Regions from separate parts of the Homo sapiens genome. Here region 2 is linked to region 1. Evidence: promoter capture Hi-C in 16 types of primary human blood cells and fetal thymus (Javierre and others, 2016). All regions are on one chromosome and are shown on one strand. Each heading gives the region's core, a stretch centred on a gene start or on the middle of the fragment in contact. The rest is flanking DNA. Distances are from core to core; before and after follow the strand shown.

Region 1 (4,254 bases), core at 719-3,218:
TGTCTTGTTCACTTCCCATGGCCACTTTTACACCATTCTCTGATTTAGTCTCATAATTGCAGGTGGCATTGGTCTGAGTTTCCTCAAAGATCTCCTCTATACTCTCATCCTCTGTGACTGGCTGTTCTGGGTCCATTTCAGAATCTACATCTGCATCGTCCACACAAGTAAAATTCTCAAAGTGCAGAAAGCCATTCTTGATAGTCTTTGTTACTTTTACCTGGAGTTCAGGGGAGTTATTACAAGAGGGTTCCTGTTTCATAGCAAGTGCTGTAGGACCACCAGGACTCAAGGAAGTGCAAACAATTGGCGTCTGAGCTCTTGAATCACTTTTTTCAGGGTCTTGAAAGGATTCTGATCCATCAGCAGACCCATTTAAATACTCTACATTGATCATGGAGGCCAAATCCTGTAGTCTCCGCAGTGGAATGTAACAAGATGGAGAATCTTGTCCATAAGCATTTTGGGATGTTCCACTGACAGTCGATAACTGCATAGTACACCCATTAAGTGGCTCAGAAAAATTGGATTGACCATTACCGAAAGGGCTGTCCTTGTCTTCAGGGGCATCTAAATTCACTGGATTGGAAAAGGGCAGCAGACAATTTCTTCTGGGTAGTTCACAGGTCTGATCCATCCTGGGCCGGCATCAACCTGGAATCCAAAAGCACAGCAATTAATCTGAGTTAATAGGCCATCTGACTCGACTCTTTAAAATGGCAGCCACTTCAAGGCCTAGTGGCCTCTATGCCTTTCTGCTGCACTTCCATGGGCAGAAAAAGTTCCCCCGACTGGAGATGAAAAAATGGCCTCGATGAGCCTCTGAAAACTCCATTTTCCCGAAGCTGGGCCGATCCTGCTACATAGAAACAGCCCGTCTCTTTTTCCTCCTCTGTAGACTGGTGGACACTTGGGATGAACTAAAATTAAAACCCCTCTGCCCGTCAAAATTCCCAATTCTCAAACAGGACTAGTCCTCCCCCTCCCTCGCCAGGGGTCGAGCAGCTGGATCTCTCAAAAGCAAAAGGCTGCGGGGTCCGAGGGGGGCTCCTGGACCCTGCACAAAAAGGTACCCCCCCCTTCCTGGCTCGCTAGGGCGCAGCGGTCACAATAGCGCTGCACCCTGCGCCCAGCCAGCGCCGGAGCCTTTGCAGCGGCGGTGCGCAGGCCGCAGGCGAGCCGGCCGAGGCGGCTGCACCCCAGAGCTCGCCTTCCTGAATGCAGGCCTGCTGGATCCGCAGCTGCAGGGCGAAGAGGCCTGGACCCGGCAGAGGGAGAAACCGAGGCGGCCAGCGAAGCCCAGTCAGGGTAGCAGCAGCTGCTACAGCTCGAAAAACATGGCTGCTGCCGACGCCGCCGCCGCCTGCCCGGGCCGCGCTCCTTCCCGCAGCCGCGGCAGCACCTCCCAGCCGAGCCGATCGCTCTCATCAATATTCAGCAGCAAGCAAAGTTTGCTGCGGGAGGGCAGCCGGCCCCGCGCCCCGCAGCCTGCTACCTGAGGGGAGGCGGAGGCCGAGGTGTTCGCAGGCGGCCGGCGGGGCACGGGCCGCGCCGGGAGGAAGTTCGCGGCAGCCCGGCCAGCTAGGCCTGAGCCCGGCTGGTAGTGATGGAGGAGGGGGAGGGGGAGGAGGCCGGCGGCTGCAGCGCCGCCGGCCACCAACCCCGCATCGCGCCTGGCCCTCCCCCGAGCCCCTCACCTTACGGCCACCACCATCTTCCCCGCCCGGCCACCCTCCTCCCTCCCTTCTCCTCGCGCCTGCCCGCCGCCCACCCCAGCGCACTAGTTACCGTGCCCCGCGCCCCCTCCCGGGCCAGCTGGGGGGAGGGGGTGACCCTCATTACACTGGGGTGCGAGCGGAGCGGTGGGGAGAGAGCGGGGCCGCTCGCCGCACCCCCCTCCCCCCGCGTCTCTCTTCAGGGGAGAAGGCAGCGAGCGCGACCTGCCCCGGCCTATTCCGCCGCCGCCTCCTCCTCCTCACACCCCCACCGCGCGCGCCCCCGCGGCCGCGCGTGCGACCGAGCGCCTCGCGCCGGCCCGCGTGCGGCTGGGCCCCGAGTGCGCGCGCACCCCTTCCCCCACCGAGCGCGCGCGTTCCCTTCTCTCACTCTTCGGGGTTCAGGGCGGGTGAAGTCGGGCTTGTGAGAGCGCCGCCCAATCAGCGGAGCTGCCGCTGCCGCCCCCTCCCCTCCCCCTGCGCGCCCGCTCGCGGCCGGGGCCTACGGGCCGGCCCGGCTGCCCGGGCGGGGCCTGAGGCGGGCTCCCCAGGGGCCTCGCGCGCCTCCTTGGAGTGTCGGGGCCTGCGGGCGTCGTGGGTGGCATTCCGATCCCCTCACCTACCTCGGGGCACGGCGCTGGCCTCGGGCCGCACACGGCTCCCGCACCCTACGCGTCTCGAACCCCAACCCAGGCGGCACCTGGCGCGGCTGAGGCCTGTCCGATCGTCCCGCCAGCCCTGCTCGGGCCCGCGTCAGTCCCGGCCTCCATCTTAGGTTACAGCCCAGGCTCCCCATCCACTGGGCACCTGCCCTCAGCCCGCTGGGTTCGGCCCGAGGCCAAGGCAACCCCCCTCCTGCCGCAGGGCTCACCTGGGGGCTTGGGCTGGGGTCTTCGAGGCCTCAGGCCCCGAGCAGACGCGGCCGCAGGCGAACCCCCTACCCGGCCGCACCCCAAACCCACACCACCACCACCACCACCACCACAGACCAAGCTGAGCAGGAAACAAAATGGAGGCAGCAGCTCGGGTCTGCCTCCCTGAGCCAAGCCTGTGCAGCCCCAGGGCTCCCTCCTGTCTCAGGCTCGACGCCCGCGAGGCAGAGGCTGGATCGTCCCGGGTGCCGCGGGCAGCCGCCCTACAGCAGCGCAGACGGGCCGGGGACTCGGCCCTGCGGTGCCCACAGCCCCTCACCCACCACCCCTTCCCTTCCCCCTCCCCCCATCCCTCTCCCTCCCCTTGCCGGGCCGTGCGGGGTGAGCGGCTCTGGGGAGCCGGGTCGGGTTACCCGCCCCGGCACTGCTCGCCCGGCCGTGGCCTCCGCGGGGGAACGAAGCCAGGCGACCCCAGCGCTGAGCCCACCCCCGGCACCGAGCCGGGCTGCAGCCTGACAGCGCGTCCGCACCTCGGCCTGCAGCCGTGCGGCCCCCGCCCAGGGAGGCCGAGTCCCCAGCCCGGGCCCAGCCGGGACGAAGCTCCCTCACCACCCCCGAGCCCAGGGGTCCTCGCAGCCTCGGGCGGGGCGAGGGGAACGCCGGGGGAGGGGGTCCTCTAGTCCCTGCACCGCCTCCCGCGCCTAGTCAAGGTCTGGGCCTGGCACGGGGGCTCGGGCAGCGGGCGCCGGCCGGCGTGGGTATGTGCGTGCGCGCCGGGCTGGGGGCCGGGACGGGACGGGCCGCGCCTCGCACCGCGGACGCTGCAGTTCTCGGCACCCAGGCAGATGGCCCTCTCGTGCCACCGCCGCCCAGAGCGGGCCGCCTGCTCCGCAGCCCGGTTCCCCGGGGAGTGCGCGCCTCGCCCCTGAGGGCCGGGCATCTGGACCCCAGCGGAGCTGCGCCGGGACACGGGACCGCCCGGCTGGCCGGGACAAGCCCGCTGGCGCAGCCCTCGGCCTGGGGCCTCACGGCCTGCATCCTGCACCGGGCCCGCAGCACCGAATCTAGCACGACCGCGTGGCGTCCAATCCCCCAAGACAGCGGAAGGGCGGGACAGGGAGCCCAAGCTGGGCCTGAACTTGCGACTCCAGCCCCTCGGGCCCTTCCCCCAGCCCGGACTCCGTCGCCCCCTGGGCTTGATCCCCACCAAGAAGCTCACCTCAGGAGTTACCTGGTCCCTAGGGCGCTAAGCGCCTTCTCGCTGTTCAGAGAAAGCCGGATCCGGCCGCCATAAAAATTCCGCCTCCTCCAGAAAGCCTTCTGTGATTAGATTTGGAGTTAACTCCATCTCAAGCTGAGGGCACCGCCCTCGAGGGCCACGTGACTACTATTCTTCCCATGGCTTAGTAAATGTGCATAGTTATTGCCCCAGTGGACTGTTTACTCACTGCCTTCTGTTAACTTTGAGCCCACCTGGGAGAAAGGCCATTTTTGGCGTTGCCCTGTGTGACATTAGTGCTGGCCAGCTAAACTCCATCCTTCCCCTGCCTTCAGCCAGCGACTGGCCCAGCAGGCGTGGAGCTCGAGATGCTCTTACCCTTTTGCTCTCCAAGGCCCACAGTCCAGTGATGGAGGCTCCCAAGTCAACAGGCCCTTAGCACATGTCT
Region 2 (4,396 bases), core at 806-3,305, 140 kb before region 1:
GTTTTGCTATGTTGCCCAGGCTGGAAAATATATGTTTTAATCATTGTTTCTTATCAACTGATCTAACCTGTTATTAATCCAAAAATAAGTTTTGTACTTATCACATCGTAAACCAAAAGCAAACCAAAACAAATCCCACATGGTTAAGAACAAAGACATGGATATGTAATTCTAAGTAAATCTCACTATAGATCAGGAGTTAAGTAACTTTTTCTGTAAAGGGTCAGAAAGTAAACACTTCAGGCTTTGCAGGCCATAGATCTCCACATGTAGCTCGACTCTGCCACTGTAATATAAAAGCAGCCATATGTAATATGTAAATGAAGAAGCATGCCTGTATTCCAATAAAATTTTCTGGATACTGATTGAAAGTTGAATTTCATATCATCTTTATGTGTCACAAAATCTCTTTTTTGCCAATCACTAAAAAATACAAAAACAACCTGTAGTTCAAGAGTATTACAAGAATAGGCAGTAGACCACATTTGCCCATGAACCATAGTTTGCCAATGCCTGCTCTAGATCCTTTTCCTGGAAATGTTTATTAAAAAAAAAAAAAAAAATGGAGTAAAGAAGTTGGCCTCTAAGTTCTTGATGAGATCACTCACAGGAAACTGCTCTCTCAGTAGCTCAATATGGTTAATATGTTAACTCTAAAATGCCTACCTTGCTGTTATCTGACCCTCAGGACTATGTGAATAGAATTATTTTCCATTTCTGAGGCCTAACGACTATGTTCCAAGAATATATTTTCACATACATTGTGAGACTCATTTAGATCCAATTATAGGTTTTGAAATTCTTAATTTCAGAAGTTGTAATCATTTGTAAGGATTAACAGTTTATGACTTTTTTCGTTTTGTTCTTTTTTTAATCTAATCTTGGTATGGATATTTTATGACATTTAAAGTAACAATTTAAAGGCCAGGAGTGGCAGCTCATGCCTATAATCCCAGTAATTTGGGAGGCCAACGTGGGAAGACAACCTGAGGCCAGGAGATCGGCCTAGGCAACATAGTGAAATCATCATCTCTAATAAAGGGGGGGAGAAAAAAGCAAAAAAAACTGGGCCTGGCACAGTGGCTCACCGTGGGAGGCTCAACTTTGGGAGACCGAGGCGGGCAGATCACCTGAGGTCAGGAGTTCAAGACCAGCCTGGCTAACATGGTGAAACCCCATCTCTACTAAAAACACAAAAATTAGCCAGGTGTGGTGGCACAATGCCTGTAGTCCCAGCTACTCAGGAGGCTGAGGCAGGAGAGTGGGCTGAATCCAGGAGATGGAGGTTGCAGTGAGCTGAGACCACGCCACTGCACCCCAGCCTGGGCAACAGAGTGAGACTCTGTCTCAGGGGGAAAAAAAAAAAAAGACTTCAGAAGCAGTGTTTATGACTTTTATCCCTTTTTAGAGGTCTTCCAAAGTTCAAAAAGAAAATATACTTATTTAAAAGAATAAAATTCAGGCCAAGTGTCGTAGCTCACGCCTGTAATCCCAGTTCTTTGGGAGGTTGAGGTGGGTGGATTGCTTTGAGCTGAGGAGTTCAGGACCAGCCTGGGCAACATGGTGAAACCCCAACTCTACAAAAAATACCAAAATTAGCCAGGCGTTGGTGGCTCATGTCTGTAATCCCAGCTACTTAGGAGACTGAGGCAGGAGGCAGGAGAATCACTTGCGCCCACGAAGCGGAGGTTGCAGTGAGCCAAAATTGCAGCAATGCACTCTAGCCTGGGTCACAGAGGGAGACCCTGTCTCAAAGGAACAAACAAAGAACAAAACTGATTCTGTCTTGTAAATACCATGTAAGTCCATCAGACTAAATCTAAGACACGGTATGGAATTTTAGTGTTCTTACTTTTCCTCTATCTTGTAACAACTTACTAATTCATCATTACACATTATTACTAACTCATCAATAATTCACAACTATGCTAAAGAAGACAGAAATAATAAGAAAAGGGAGGCCGGGCGCAGTGGCTCACGCCTGTAATCCCAGCACTTTGGGAGGCTAAGGCAGGCCGATCACGAGGTCAGGAGATCGAGACCATCCTGGCTAACATGGTGAAACCCCATCTCTACTAAAAATACAAAAAATTAGCCCGGTGTGGTGGCGGGCGCCTGTAGTCCCAGCTACTCGGGAGGCTGAGGCAGGAGAATGGCTTGAACCCGGGAGGCAGAGCTTGCAGTGAGCCAAGATCGTGCCACTGCACTCCATCCTGGGCGACTCCATCTCAAAAAAAAAAAAAAAAAAAAAAAAAAGACAAGGGAAGCACAATGGAATCACATATAAGCACGATGAAATACTGAAACTGTCACACTTTAGATTTCTTACGGCATTACCCAAAGTACTGCATTGTCGTTTAAAAAAAGTATAAAAGACCGTCTACTACACCTGAGGAAAGGAGTTTAAAAATAAAAAAGCAAGTATAAAACACTGGAGACACGATCTTGAAGGTCTGATTTCGGTAGGGTTATCAGATTTAGCAAATAAAAATCCAAGTCATCTAGTTCAATCTGAATTTCTGACAAACAACGAAAGTTTTTCAGTTTAACTATGCTCGATCCAATATTTGAGACAAACTTAAACATACTAGATTCTCAAGATGGTGGTCAAATTAGTCTCCAAGTAGCATCTCAGATTATCAGTCTTTGGAAACACACAGCCGGGCGTGGTGGCTCATGCCTGTAATCCCAGCACTTTGGGAGGCTGTGGCGGGTGAATCACTTGAGGTCAGGAGTTCGAGACCAGCCTGGCCAACACGGCGAAACCCCGTCTCTACTAAAAATACAAAAATTAGCCGCATATAGTGGTGTGCGCCTGTAATCCCAGCTACTCGGGAGGCTGCGGCAGAAGACTTGCTTGAACCTGGGAGATGGATGTTGCAGTGAGCCAAGATTGCACCACTGCACTCCAGCCTAGGAGACAGGGGGAGACTCCATCTCAAAAACAAACAAACAAAAAAACAACACACACACACACACACACACACACACACAAAGGATAAGTGAACAAATAATGCATTTCTAAGAACAAAAAAGAAATAGGGTATTCTCATCCAGGAACAATGCCATCAAAGATGTTTTACAAGAACAACCTGGGTAATCTCCTTTTCTCAACAGGCCTAACAATATTCTTTCATGTTTTATGATATTTGAGCATCGCAACTAACTTATCTGATAAAAAGAGGTTTGTAAAAAGGATTTAGTAAATATTAGGTTGGTGCAAAAGTAATTGAGGTTTGCCATTAAAAGTAATGATAAAACTGCAATTATTTTAGCAACAACATAACACTAAAATTTCTAATACATTTGTTCTCCACTGTCTCTTTATTTTTATGTCTGTCAATTATTCATATAAATGACATAAAAATGTTTAAAATACAAAGGCTCCACTGGACCCAGATGATAATGGTGATGACTATTTCACTAGGTAGGTTAAAGGTTAGGTCCACCTAAAATCAATTCTCCTGACACTGGGAATCCTGGCAATGCGCTAGGAATGGTGTTCTGGTACTTGTTTCTTTTTTTCTTCTTTTTTTTGGAGACGGAGTCTTACTCTGTCGCCCAGGCTTGAGTGTAGTGGCACGATCTCGGCTCACTGCAACCTCTGCCTCCCGGGTTCAAGCAATTCTCCAGCCTCAGCCTCCCAAGTAGCTGGAATTACAGGCACCTGCCTGGCCAGGCTGGTCTCAAACTCCTGACTTCAGGTGATCCGCCCGCCTCGGCCTCCCAAAGTGCTGGGATTACAAGCGTGAGCCACCGTGCCCGGCTATTTCTGATCTTCTTTTAAGCTCATACCTCTACCTAAAACGAACTATGCTTGTGCTTCCGTTCTTGTCATGAACAGAGTGGGAAGAGCCAGCTATTCCATTTCTCTTCTAGAGAAGGTCCCCCAAGATTTTCTCCTCACCTTTATATGTTTATAAGGTGGTGGCTTCTTGTCATTCTTTCGGTCTTCCTGCAGCTGTCTTAGCTCTTTTTGGGCCTTTAATTCCTCAAACCTTGCTGCAGCTTCCTGAAGAGCTATGAAAACAGACAGCACAAGTCACTTCAAAATCTCTGGGTGGAATTACTTATTTATTCACTTATTTTTTACTTTTTCCCCTTTAAGTTGGAGAAACTCCATGTTTTACACAAAAATCGACCAATGCTATATGAAAAAGAAAACACATAACAGCTATTTTCAAACAGGTAATGTAGTCCAAAGGGTATTCAGACATAGTATTAAGACAAAACATAATCCAGAACTAAATGGCACAATACAGACTATCACCCTTTAGATCACTGGCATCCATCCATCTGAATACGAGAACTTTTTTGCTTATCTGTGGTGGCGGATATCATAAAAATTATGCATGGACTTTTTTTTTTTTTTTTTTTTTAGCTCATCAGTTATTGT

The links. Contacts are between HindIII fragments. The CHiCAGO score rates a contact against its expected background, and 5 or more counts as called.
Region 2: a contact is called between a fragment that was not itself captured here and the fragment with the promoter of NSD1 in region 1, in 3 of 17 cell types (erythroblasts, megakaryocytes and endothelial precursors). The highest score is 7.3, in erythroblasts.

Annotation. Positions count from the first base shown.
Region 1 is chr5:177,131,487-177,135,740 of GRCh38, reverse strand. It overlaps NSD1 (nuclear receptor binding SET domain protein 1), which reads right to left and starts at 1,968. Exons shown (of 23, transcript NM_022455.5): 1 at 1,789-1,968; 2 at 1-654. The coding sequence starts at 637. RefSeq lists enhancers at 766-1,319, 1,320-1,871, 1,872-2,425, 2,639-2,933, 2,426-2,977 and 1 more and silencers at 1,333-1,632, 1,693-1,852, 1,933-2,602. The HindIII fragment of the contact is 6,719 bases long and covers 1-4,254 here.
Region 2 is chr5:177,273,296-177,277,691 of GRCh38, reverse strand. It overlaps NSD1 (nuclear receptor binding SET domain protein 1), which reads right to left. Exons shown (of 23, transcript NM_022455.5): 17 at 3,908-4,020. Among named protein-coding and RNA genes, the nearest start is that of RAB24, 28 kb to the left of the region's middle. The HindIII fragment of the contact is 5,273 bases long and covers 1-4,396 here.